2 separate regions of the Homo sapiens genome follow, and region 2 is linked to region 1. The links are contacts of gene promoters, found by promoter capture Hi-C in blood cells and fetal thymus (Javierre and others, 2016). All regions are on one chromosome and are shown on one strand. Each heading gives the region's core, a stretch centred on a gene start or on the middle of the fragment in contact. The rest is flanking DNA. Distances are from core to core; before and after follow the strand shown.

Evidence for each region. The method cuts DNA at HindIII sites, captures the fragments that hold promoters and counts their contacts. A CHiCAGO score of 5 or more calls a contact.
Region 2: a contact is called between a fragment that was not itself captured here and the fragment with the promoter of APOBEC3H in region 1, in 1 of 17 cell types (erythroblasts). The highest score is 5.4, in erythroblasts.

Annotation. Positions count from the first base shown.
Region 1 is chr22:39,094,717-39,099,248 of GRCh38, forward strand. APOBEC3H (apolipoprotein B mRNA editing enzyme catalytic subunit 3H) reads left to right here and starts at 2,528. Exons shown (of 5, transcript NM_181773.5): 1 at 2,528-2,627. RefSeq lists enhancers at 1,650-2,849, 2,172-3,059, 2,390-2,729, 3,060-3,946. The HindIII fragment of the contact is 11,404 bases long and covers 183-4,532 here.
Region 2 is chr22:38,812,379-38,817,047 of GRCh38, forward strand. No RefSeq gene overlaps it. Among named protein-coding and RNA genes, the nearest start is that of DNAL4, 21 kb to the left of the region's middle. The HindIII fragment of the contact is 3,873 bases long and covers 1,437-4,669 here.

The DNA.
Region 1 (4,532 bases), core at 1,278-3,777:
TACTAAAAATACAGAAATTAGCTGGGTGTGGCACTGCACACCTGTGAACCCAGCTACTCGGGAGTCTGAGGCAGGAGAATTTCTTAAACCTGGGAGGCAGAGGTTGAAGTGAGCCGAGATCGCACCATTGCACCACATCCTGGGTGACAGAGCGAGACTCCATCTCAAAAAAAAAAAAAAGAAGCTTAAAACAAAGACGGGACGTTCTTCCTTCTGCCTTCTGAGGCCTCCCTAGTCTGTAGTGCCGGAGCTTCTAATAAATGATCACAACTTCACCGCACCCTGTGGCTCAGCTTGAGTTCTTTCCTGTGAGAGATCCAAGAACCCATTCTTGGGGTCTGGATCGGGTCCCCCTTTGCAGCAACGAACACAGGCCAGAGTGGCCAGCCTAACCTCCCGTCCTCCTGGAGATAACACCTAAGCACAGGCCCGTCCTAGACACCACAGGGTCTCTGCTGCAGGAATTCACTGGAGGAGTAGTGGGAATGCTGCCTGTGGGAAGGACCAGGAAAGGGTTCCGCCTTCCTTTCCATCCTCCCTGCTTCTCAGCCTGGGAGACTCAGCTCTGTGATTAACCAGCACTACAGTGTGCAGATCTGATGTCTCTCCTGGCAGGACCCCGCTCATTCTGGAATCTTCCATGGACTGTAGCCCCAACATTTAGGACAGATAGGGTGGAGGGGATGCCATTCCCAGGAACCTTCTAAATTCTCACCCAAGCTCCTGTGACCCCAGGGGCCATGCAGGGTCTAGAGGGCTGTCAGGGTGTGCAGGGCGGGAGGATATGGAGGGACAAGCTGGGCAAGGTTCAATGGGACTCCTTGGTGTGGAACCTAGACTCCGCAGTGACTGCCCCTAGTCCTCGCCCTTGGGATTCAACTTTCCTAGGGGTTCTTTGGTTTTTCTTTTTCTTTTCTTTTAGACAGAGTCCCGTTCTTGTCGACCAGGCTAGAGTGCAGTGGCACAATCTCGGCTCGCTGCAACCTCTGCCTCCCAGGTTCGAATGATTCCCCTGCTTCAGACTCCTGAGTAGCTGGGATTACAGATGCCCGCCACCACGCCTGGCTAATTTTTGTATTTTTAGTAGAGACGAGGTTTCACCGTGTTGCCCAGGCTGGTCTCGAACTCCTGACCTCAGGTCATCAGCCTGCCTGAGCCTCCCGAAGTGCTGGGATTACAGGCGTGAGCCACAGCACCTGGCCTGGCTCTTTGGTGTTTATGATCTGAAGGGTGTTGGTTGATATGCATGAAGACGAGGACATGGGTTCCAGAATGCAAATGTGAAGTCCAGGTCCTTCATCTCTGACCTGGGAGGCCCTTTAGGAGCAGTAAGTCCCCTCCCTCGTGTCTCCTCTCCTGCTCCTTTCCATGGAGCAATGAAGAACCTCAAAGTAGCTAGCTGTGGGGGAGAAGGGACACAGGAAGTCCTGGCCAGCACTCCAGCTCTGCTGTTGATTTGCTGTGTGACGTGGGGACAGTATCTTAGCCTCTCTGTGCTTGGGACCTCCTCTGACTGTCAGGATCACTGCCCTCCCCTCCCAGTGCTATCTGGGGACTGGGCTAGATAATGGGCACTGGATCCGCTGGAGATGCAGTCCTGAGCCTGACCCCAGTGCTCATTTCACATCAGGCTCAGGGTCCTGCCAGGAGGCTGAATGCCAAAGGTCAGTGGGGTGGTGGGGAGGGGGCTGCAGCCTGCCCTGTCCACCAGGGGAGTGGCATCTGGTCTATGGTGTCAGCCCTGGTCTGGATCCCTGCTCCTTTCTGTGGCTTCTATTCCTTTCATTTATTTTAGTTTAGTTTAGTTTTTGAGACGGAGTTTTGTTCTTATTGCCCAGGCTGGAGTGCGGTTGGCCAGGTTGATTTTGAACTCCTGACTTCAGGCAATCCACCTGCCTCAGCCTCCCAAAGTGCTGGGATAACAGGCACCGTGACCAGCCATCAATTCCTTTCTTTTTTCTTTCTTTTTTATTTTTATTTATTTATTTATTTTTTGAGACAGGGTCTCGTTCTGTTGCCAGGGTGGAGTGCAGTGGTGCGACGTCGGCTCACTGCAACCTCTGCCTCCAAGGTTCAAGCAATTTCCCTGCCTCAGCCTCCCAAGCAGCTGGAACTACAGGCGCAGGCCACCAAACCTGGCTAATTTTTTGTATTTTAGCAGAGACGGGGTTTCACCATGTTGGCCAGGATGGTCTTCATCTCCTTACCTTGTAATTTGCCCACCTCAGCCTCCCAAAGTGTTCGGATTACAGGTGTGAGCCACCGCATCTGGCCTTTGTTCTTTTGTAAACTATACCTGGGGAGGGAGTTGAGTCTGGCTGTACCTGGAGAGGGAATTGGGGGTGGGAGGATGGGAGGTGAGCCACCTCCATCAGACTTCCCCTGCCAAGCCCGAGGAAATAGAGAAAGAAAGGAGCCTGAGGGATCTGAAGCACCCCAGGGCCCTCCCACTCCAGTCCCACAAAAGGAAGAGGGTGGAGCCACCCTCATCAAGCAGTGACTTTTTGTGACTTTTGGGAGAGCTGACCTTTTGTGACTTTTGGGAGAGCTGCCAAAAGTGAAACTTAGTGCCTCAGACAAGCAGGGGCAAGTCTGCTAAGGAAGCTGTGGCCAGAAGCACAGATCAGGTACTGCCGCCCACTCTGTCCACTGGGCCCTCTGCTGCCACTTCCTGCCTGGCAGCCCTTCTGTGCCTCAGCCCTGGCCTCCCGCTGCCCCAGCCCCAGCCCTGGGCTCCTTCTCCTCTGGCTCCCCTGCCATCCCCACTCCCACCCAGGCTCTTTGCCCTGCTGTGTGGTCACCCCACTGCTGCTTCTGAACGGGCCGCCTCCCCGGCCTGCACCAGCCCAAGACCCCTGCTGAGACTCTCCCCTAAGAGTCATGGCTGGGCTAGTGCTCCCCACCTTGGGAGGGTGCTCTCTCTGTGTGCTTCCTGCCATTCCTGGGCTCTGGAACTGGGAGAACTGAACTAAAGGATGATGGGAGCAATCTGGAATTTTGTTCACAGTGCTTTGATGAACTTTGTGTAAGATTACTTTGTTTCAATACAAAGTCTTAGGAGAGGGTGTGGGGAGGCAATGATCTCTGAAGCACAAGGCAAATCATCTCTTCCAAGGATGTCTCCACTGTGGGCAGAGGAGGATGCAGATGACCCTGAACACACACTCCTCCTCCATGATCAGTATTCACATTCACCGTTTATAATGACACCAGTAACACGGAATATACGGAAAAACTCAATGATCAGGAGAAATGCTTTTATTTTAAAATTTAGGAAGAAGAGAGCCTGGTTCCCAAAGGCTCCCTCCTGCAGGGCCCGTGATGCAGAGGCTGGCAGGGCTGGCCAGGAAAGTGGCCCAGCTCCATGGCCTGGGCAGGTTACCCCACCTCTCTGCACCTCTGGCCCCTCCTCTGTAAGATGAGAATGGCCCCTGCAGGCCTAGGGCAGCCTCACGTGAGCTCAGATCCTCTCAGCACTTAGAAGAGTGGCCTGGGCCTGGGGATGGAAGTGCTACCCTGATTTTTTGTTTCGTTTTGTTTTTTTGAGAAGGGGTGTCTCAGTCTGTTGCCCAGGCTGGAGCGCAATCTCGGCTCACTACAAGCTCCACCTCCTGGGTTCACGCCATTTTCCTGCCTGGCCAGGCAAAATGGCTCATGCCTGTAATCCCAACACTTTGGGAAGCTGAGAGGGGAGGATCATCACTAAAGGCCAGGAGTTCCAAACCAGCCTGGGCAACACAGGGAGACCCCCTTATCTACTAAAACTAAAAAAATAAAATAAAATAACATGAATAGGTAAAATGCCAGGAATTAATTGAACTGAAATATTAAGAGCTCTTATTTTGAAGGGGAGAATTTTATTCACTTTTCTTATTTTTAATGGGTTAGAGGATGGGTGGCAGAAATACTGGGAGGATGGGAGATCCATCCCTGGAAAGACCAGAGCTAGGGCCCTGAGCTGGGAGAGGTCACCCCGGCCCTGCTGCCCCTGCCAGCATCTCCTTCTCTTCTCCTCTCCCTGGTCTTCCTGCTTGGGAAAGCTGCAGAAATTCTCAGGACTTGGAGGCTTGAAATGCTCAGGGGTTTTCCAGAAAGCAGAATAGAAAGTAGATGGGCAACCATCAATCAGACAGGCCAAAGAAAAGGAGCTCAGGCCCTCGGGGAGACAGGAGGTGAGCGCATGGGTCACAATCCTGGCGGGGCGCGGTGGCTCACGCCTATAATCCCAGCACTTTGGGAGGCCGAGGTGGGTGGATCACCTGAGGTCAAAGGAGTTCAAGACCAGCCTGGCCAACATGGTAAAACTCCATCTCTACAAAAATACAAAAATTAGCCGGGCATGAAGGAGGGCGCTTGTAATTCCAGCTACTTGGGAGGCTGAGGCAGGAGAATTGCTTGAACCCGGGAGAATCACTTGAACCTGGTAGGTGGAGCTTGCAGTGAGCTGAGATTGGACCACTGCACTCCAGCCTGGGCAACAGAGCAAGACTCTCTCTCAAAAACAAAAAAAAAGCAAAATCCAAAATTGAATC
Region 2 (4,669 bases), core at 2,123-4,622, 280 kb before region 1:
TTAGTAGAGACAGGGTTTCACCATGTTGGTTAGGCTGGTCTTGAACTCCTGGCCTCAAGTGATCTGCCTGCCTTGGCCTCCCAAAGTGCTGGGATTACAGGTGTGAGCCACTGTACCTGCCTTTTCCTTGGATGTCTTAAATATGTTCTGTCTTTCTAGGTTTTCTCAGTGGGAAAGCTGGTCTGCAACAGAAATCTGCACCAGCCTTTGTTTCTCACACGAATATTTTGACATCCTTGAGGGACTAAGGGGAACCCCTTAATTACAGACCATATTGTGCAGCATTTGGGTGCTTGTTCAGGAGTCAGACTGGATTAAATTCTAGTGTTGCAGCTGGGCGTGACGGCTCACACTTGTAATCCCAGCACTTTGGGAGGCCGAGGTGGGTGGATCACCTGAGGTCAGGAGTTCAAGACCAGCCTGGCCAACATGGTGAAACCCCATCTCTACTAAAAATACAAAAATTAGCTGGGCGTGGTGGTGGGCACCTGTAATCCAGGCTACTTGGGAGGCTGAGGCAGGAGAATTGCTTGAACCTGGGAGGTGGAGGTTGGAGGCTGCAGTGAGCCGAGATCACTGCACTCCAGCCTGGGCAATGGGCAACAAGAGTGAAACTCTGTCTCAAAATAAATAAATAAATAAAAATAAAAATCTAGTGTTGTCACTTCCCAGCCATGTGATCTTGGGGAAGTCTCCCTCTCTGGGCCTCAGTTTTCTTATGGAACTTGCCTCCTTGGATTAAATAAACTAATATATGTCAAGTACTCAGAGAACTGAGTTCCTGTCATATAAAAGCACTCAATATATACCAGTTATTAGTATTCAGCAAATCAGTGTTAAACACCTACTCTGTGCCAGGGCACTGGATCTATATGGTGGTGAAAAAGACAAATACAGTCCCTTCCCTCGTAGAGCTGACAGTTTATTCAGGAGGACACTCTGGTGACTTATCATAGGAAGTTAGTAAAATACCATTGTCAAAGAGAGACTCATACTGTGGTGAGAATGAAAAAGGATGATAGAGCAGGGTACCCTGGCAGGTTTGGTTCCAGGTTGAGCAGGGAGGGCTTGGTTCCCAGGTCTGCGGTAATAGAGGGTATGTGGCAAATGACAGAGAGCGACCAGGCAGCTACTTATGGCCAGGTGGTCAGCAAACACATCTGTGATTGCTGCATGACAGCTGAGACTTGGATGATCAAAAGGAGCAAGTCCACTGAGACCTGGGGAAGGAACATTCCAGGTTGAGAGAATGACACATGCAGGTTATCTGAATCTGGCACGTTTGAGGGGCAGCAAGAAGGCCAGTGTGTCCTGGAGTGGAATGAGCAGAGGGGAGAGAGTGACCACATAAAATCCAGGAGGTGGGCAGGGACAGGATCCCAGAGGGCTTTGAGAGTCACCACGAGGGCGTGGATTTTAGTTTAAGCGAACTGGGAAGCTTTGGAGAGTCTTGTCTTGTCTTGTCTTTTCCTTTTCTCTTTTCTTTTTTCTTTTCTTTTCTTTTCTATTTTTTTTCTTTCTTTTCTCTTCTCTTCTCTTCTCTTCTCTTCTCTTCTCTTCTCTTCTCTTTTCTTTTCAACAGAGTCTTGGCTATGTTGCCCAGGCTGGACTGCAATCTCCGCCTCCTGGGTTCAAGCAATTCTCCTGCTTCAGCCTACTGAGTAGCTGGGCTTACAGGCACCTGCCACCATGCCCAGCTAATTTTTGTATTTTTAATAGAGACGGGGTTTCACTGTGTTGGCCAGGCTGGTCTCAAACTCCTGACCTCAGGTGATCCACCTGCCTTGGCCTTCCAAAGTGCTGGGATTACAGGCGTGAGCCACCATGCCCGGGCTGCTTTGGAGTTTTACAGAGGGGAGTGACAATATTTTGATTGCAACATGATCATTGTAGGTGTCATAAGGAGAACTAATTCTTTTTTTAAGAGTCCCACTCTGTGACTCAGGCTGGAGTATAGTGGAACAATCAGGGCTCACTGTAGCCTCTATCTCCCAGACTCAAGTGATCCTCCCGCCTCAGCCTCCAGAGTAGCTAGAACTACAGGTGTGCACCACCACGCCCAGCTAATTAAAAAAAAAAAAAAATTTTGTGGAGACAGGATCTCATTCTGTTGCCTAGGCTGGTCTTGAATTCCTCGGCTCAAGCAATCCTCCTGCCCGACCTCCCAAAGTGTTGGGATTACAGGGGTGAGTTACTATTGCACCCGGCCAGAGAATGGATTTTAAGAGAGGAAACTGCATTTTTAAGAGACAATGGTGGCTTGGAACAGAGTGGTAGCAGAGTGGAAAGGAGTGAACGTGGGTTGAGATATGGGTTAGTAGTTGAGTCAATGGGCGATGGATTGAATAGATGGGCAATAGAAAGAGAGAAGTCAATGAGCAACCGGAATTGAGCCTATTTATTTGAGCCTATTTATTGAGAAGGGGGTGAGTGGGGTAGGGAGAGGAAGATCAAGTGCTTAGTTTTGGATACCTACATTTTGAGACTCCTATTGGGTAACCTGGATATGCAAATGTGGAGTTCAGGGAAAAATCTAGGAGGGAGTCAAAGCCATGGGCTTGGATGAGATTTCCTAGGGAGAGCATCTAGGTAGAAAGAATAAAGAGACCCAGAACTGCGCCCTGGGGTAGTGCAGCATTTAGGGACCAGGGAGATGAGGAGGCACCAGAAGGAGTCCTAGTAGGAACCGCCAGTGAAATAGAGCAGTAGTTCTCAAAGTGTGGTCCCAGGACCAGCAGCCATAGCATCATCTGGCGCTTGTTAGAGAAGCAGACGATTGGGCCCCACCCCAGATCTACTGCCTCAGAACCTCCAGGGTGGAGCCCAGAGGTCAGCGACCAGTGCTTTAACTCGCTCCAGGCGATTGTAATGCAGGCTACAATTTGAGAACCACTGAGGTGAAAGACAAACCAGGAGAGGGTGTGTTTTGGAAGGCAAGAGGATACATTTTTCAAGAAGGAAGGAGTATGTTAGATGCAGCTGAGAGTGTGGCTAAGACAATGGCAGAGGCCTGGCCATTGGATTTTGTAACGTGGACGTTATTGTTGGCCTGGACAGGTAAGACTTCGGTGGAGTGGGGGTGTGGGGGGAACAGCAGCCTCATGGGAACTGGACAAGATGTGAATGAAAGTGGGATGAAGTGGCATCAAAACTGTAGACCTGGCTGACTGTGGTGGCTCACGCCTGTAATCCCAGTACTTTGGGAGGCCAAGGCAGGAGGATTATTTTGAGCTCAGGAGTTTGAGACCAGCCTGGCCAACATGGCGAAACCCCGTCTCTACTAAAAATATAAAAATTAGCCGGGTGTGGTGGCACATGCCTGTAATCCCAGCTCCTCGGGAGACTGAGGCAGGAGAATCGCTTGAACCCGGGAGGCAGAGGTTGCAGTGGGCCAAGATGGTGCCACTGCACTCCAGTCTGGGTGACAAAGTGAGACTCCATCTCAAAAACAAAAACAAAACACCCAAAACCCCCAAAAAACTGTAGACCCACTGTCTAGCAAAGGGTTAACTCAGCAGGCTTGGGCTGATGGAACCCTGTGCATTCCAAAGAAAGGACTGGGCCTGGAGCAGCTCCCCAGCAGGTAACTTCTAAACCCTTGGAAGGTCCTGCCTGATGAGACTATCTTTGTTTACCTTGGGCCATGCCAGATAATTTATGCTGACAAAGTCTTTTATGCCAAATGCCCTTGGTCACACTGTATCAGTTTGACCTCTGGAGAGGGTCCTGAGACTGAGTAGTTAAGGTCAGTCATACGGGTGCTCCATTACATAACCATCCCCCAGTATAGACCCTGGACACCAAGACTGGGGTGAGCTTCCCTGATGGACAAGTCTCTTGTGTGTGTGTCACACATCATTGCTGAGAGAATGAAGTGCTCTCCGTAGGACTTTGGGAAAGAACAACTGGAATCCTGCTCCTGGTCTGTCCTGGATTCCACCCTATATGCCTTTCTCCTTGGCTAATTTGCATCTGTATCTTTTCAATGTAATAAACCGTAACCATGAGTTTAGCAGCTTTTCTGAGTTCTGTGAGTCTTTCCAGTGAATCATCAAACCTGTGGGTGGTCTTGGGGACCCCTGATACTCCTGATTTTTCAAGAGGTTTTGCAGTGAAAGGAGAAAAGGAATGAGTGACAGCTGCAGGAGGTATTGGCCCAAGATGGGGATTCTGTGTAAGAGAGGAGATACTGGGGCAGACGTGGAGGCCCATTGAAATGACAAAGTAGATAAGGATAGGTTGGTAATGCAGGAGAAATGTTATTGAGAAGATAAAGTGGAAGGGGATCCATTACACAGCGCCTCTGATAGGAACAGTGACAGTTTATTCAGAGTAACCAGGGGAAGCCAGAAAATCTGGGTACAGTGCGGGTTTGCAGGCAGACTTGGTGGTGGGGTGATGGGGGAACACTGAACTAATGGTTTTCTCAATGAACTAGGAGGTGAGGCCACCCTTGAGTGTGCAGAGCTGGGAGTGGAGGGCTGTAGATTTGAGGAGAGAGGGAATATGATGTAGTCACTTTGGAGAGTAAGACCCCAAACAAGGAATGTGTACTAAGATTGCAGGGCAGGGTTGGAGATCTCTGGCCAAGGACTGAAAATGAGAGTCAGGCTGGGCGCGGTGGCTCACATCTGTAATCCCAGCACTTTAGGAGGCTGAGGCAGGTGGA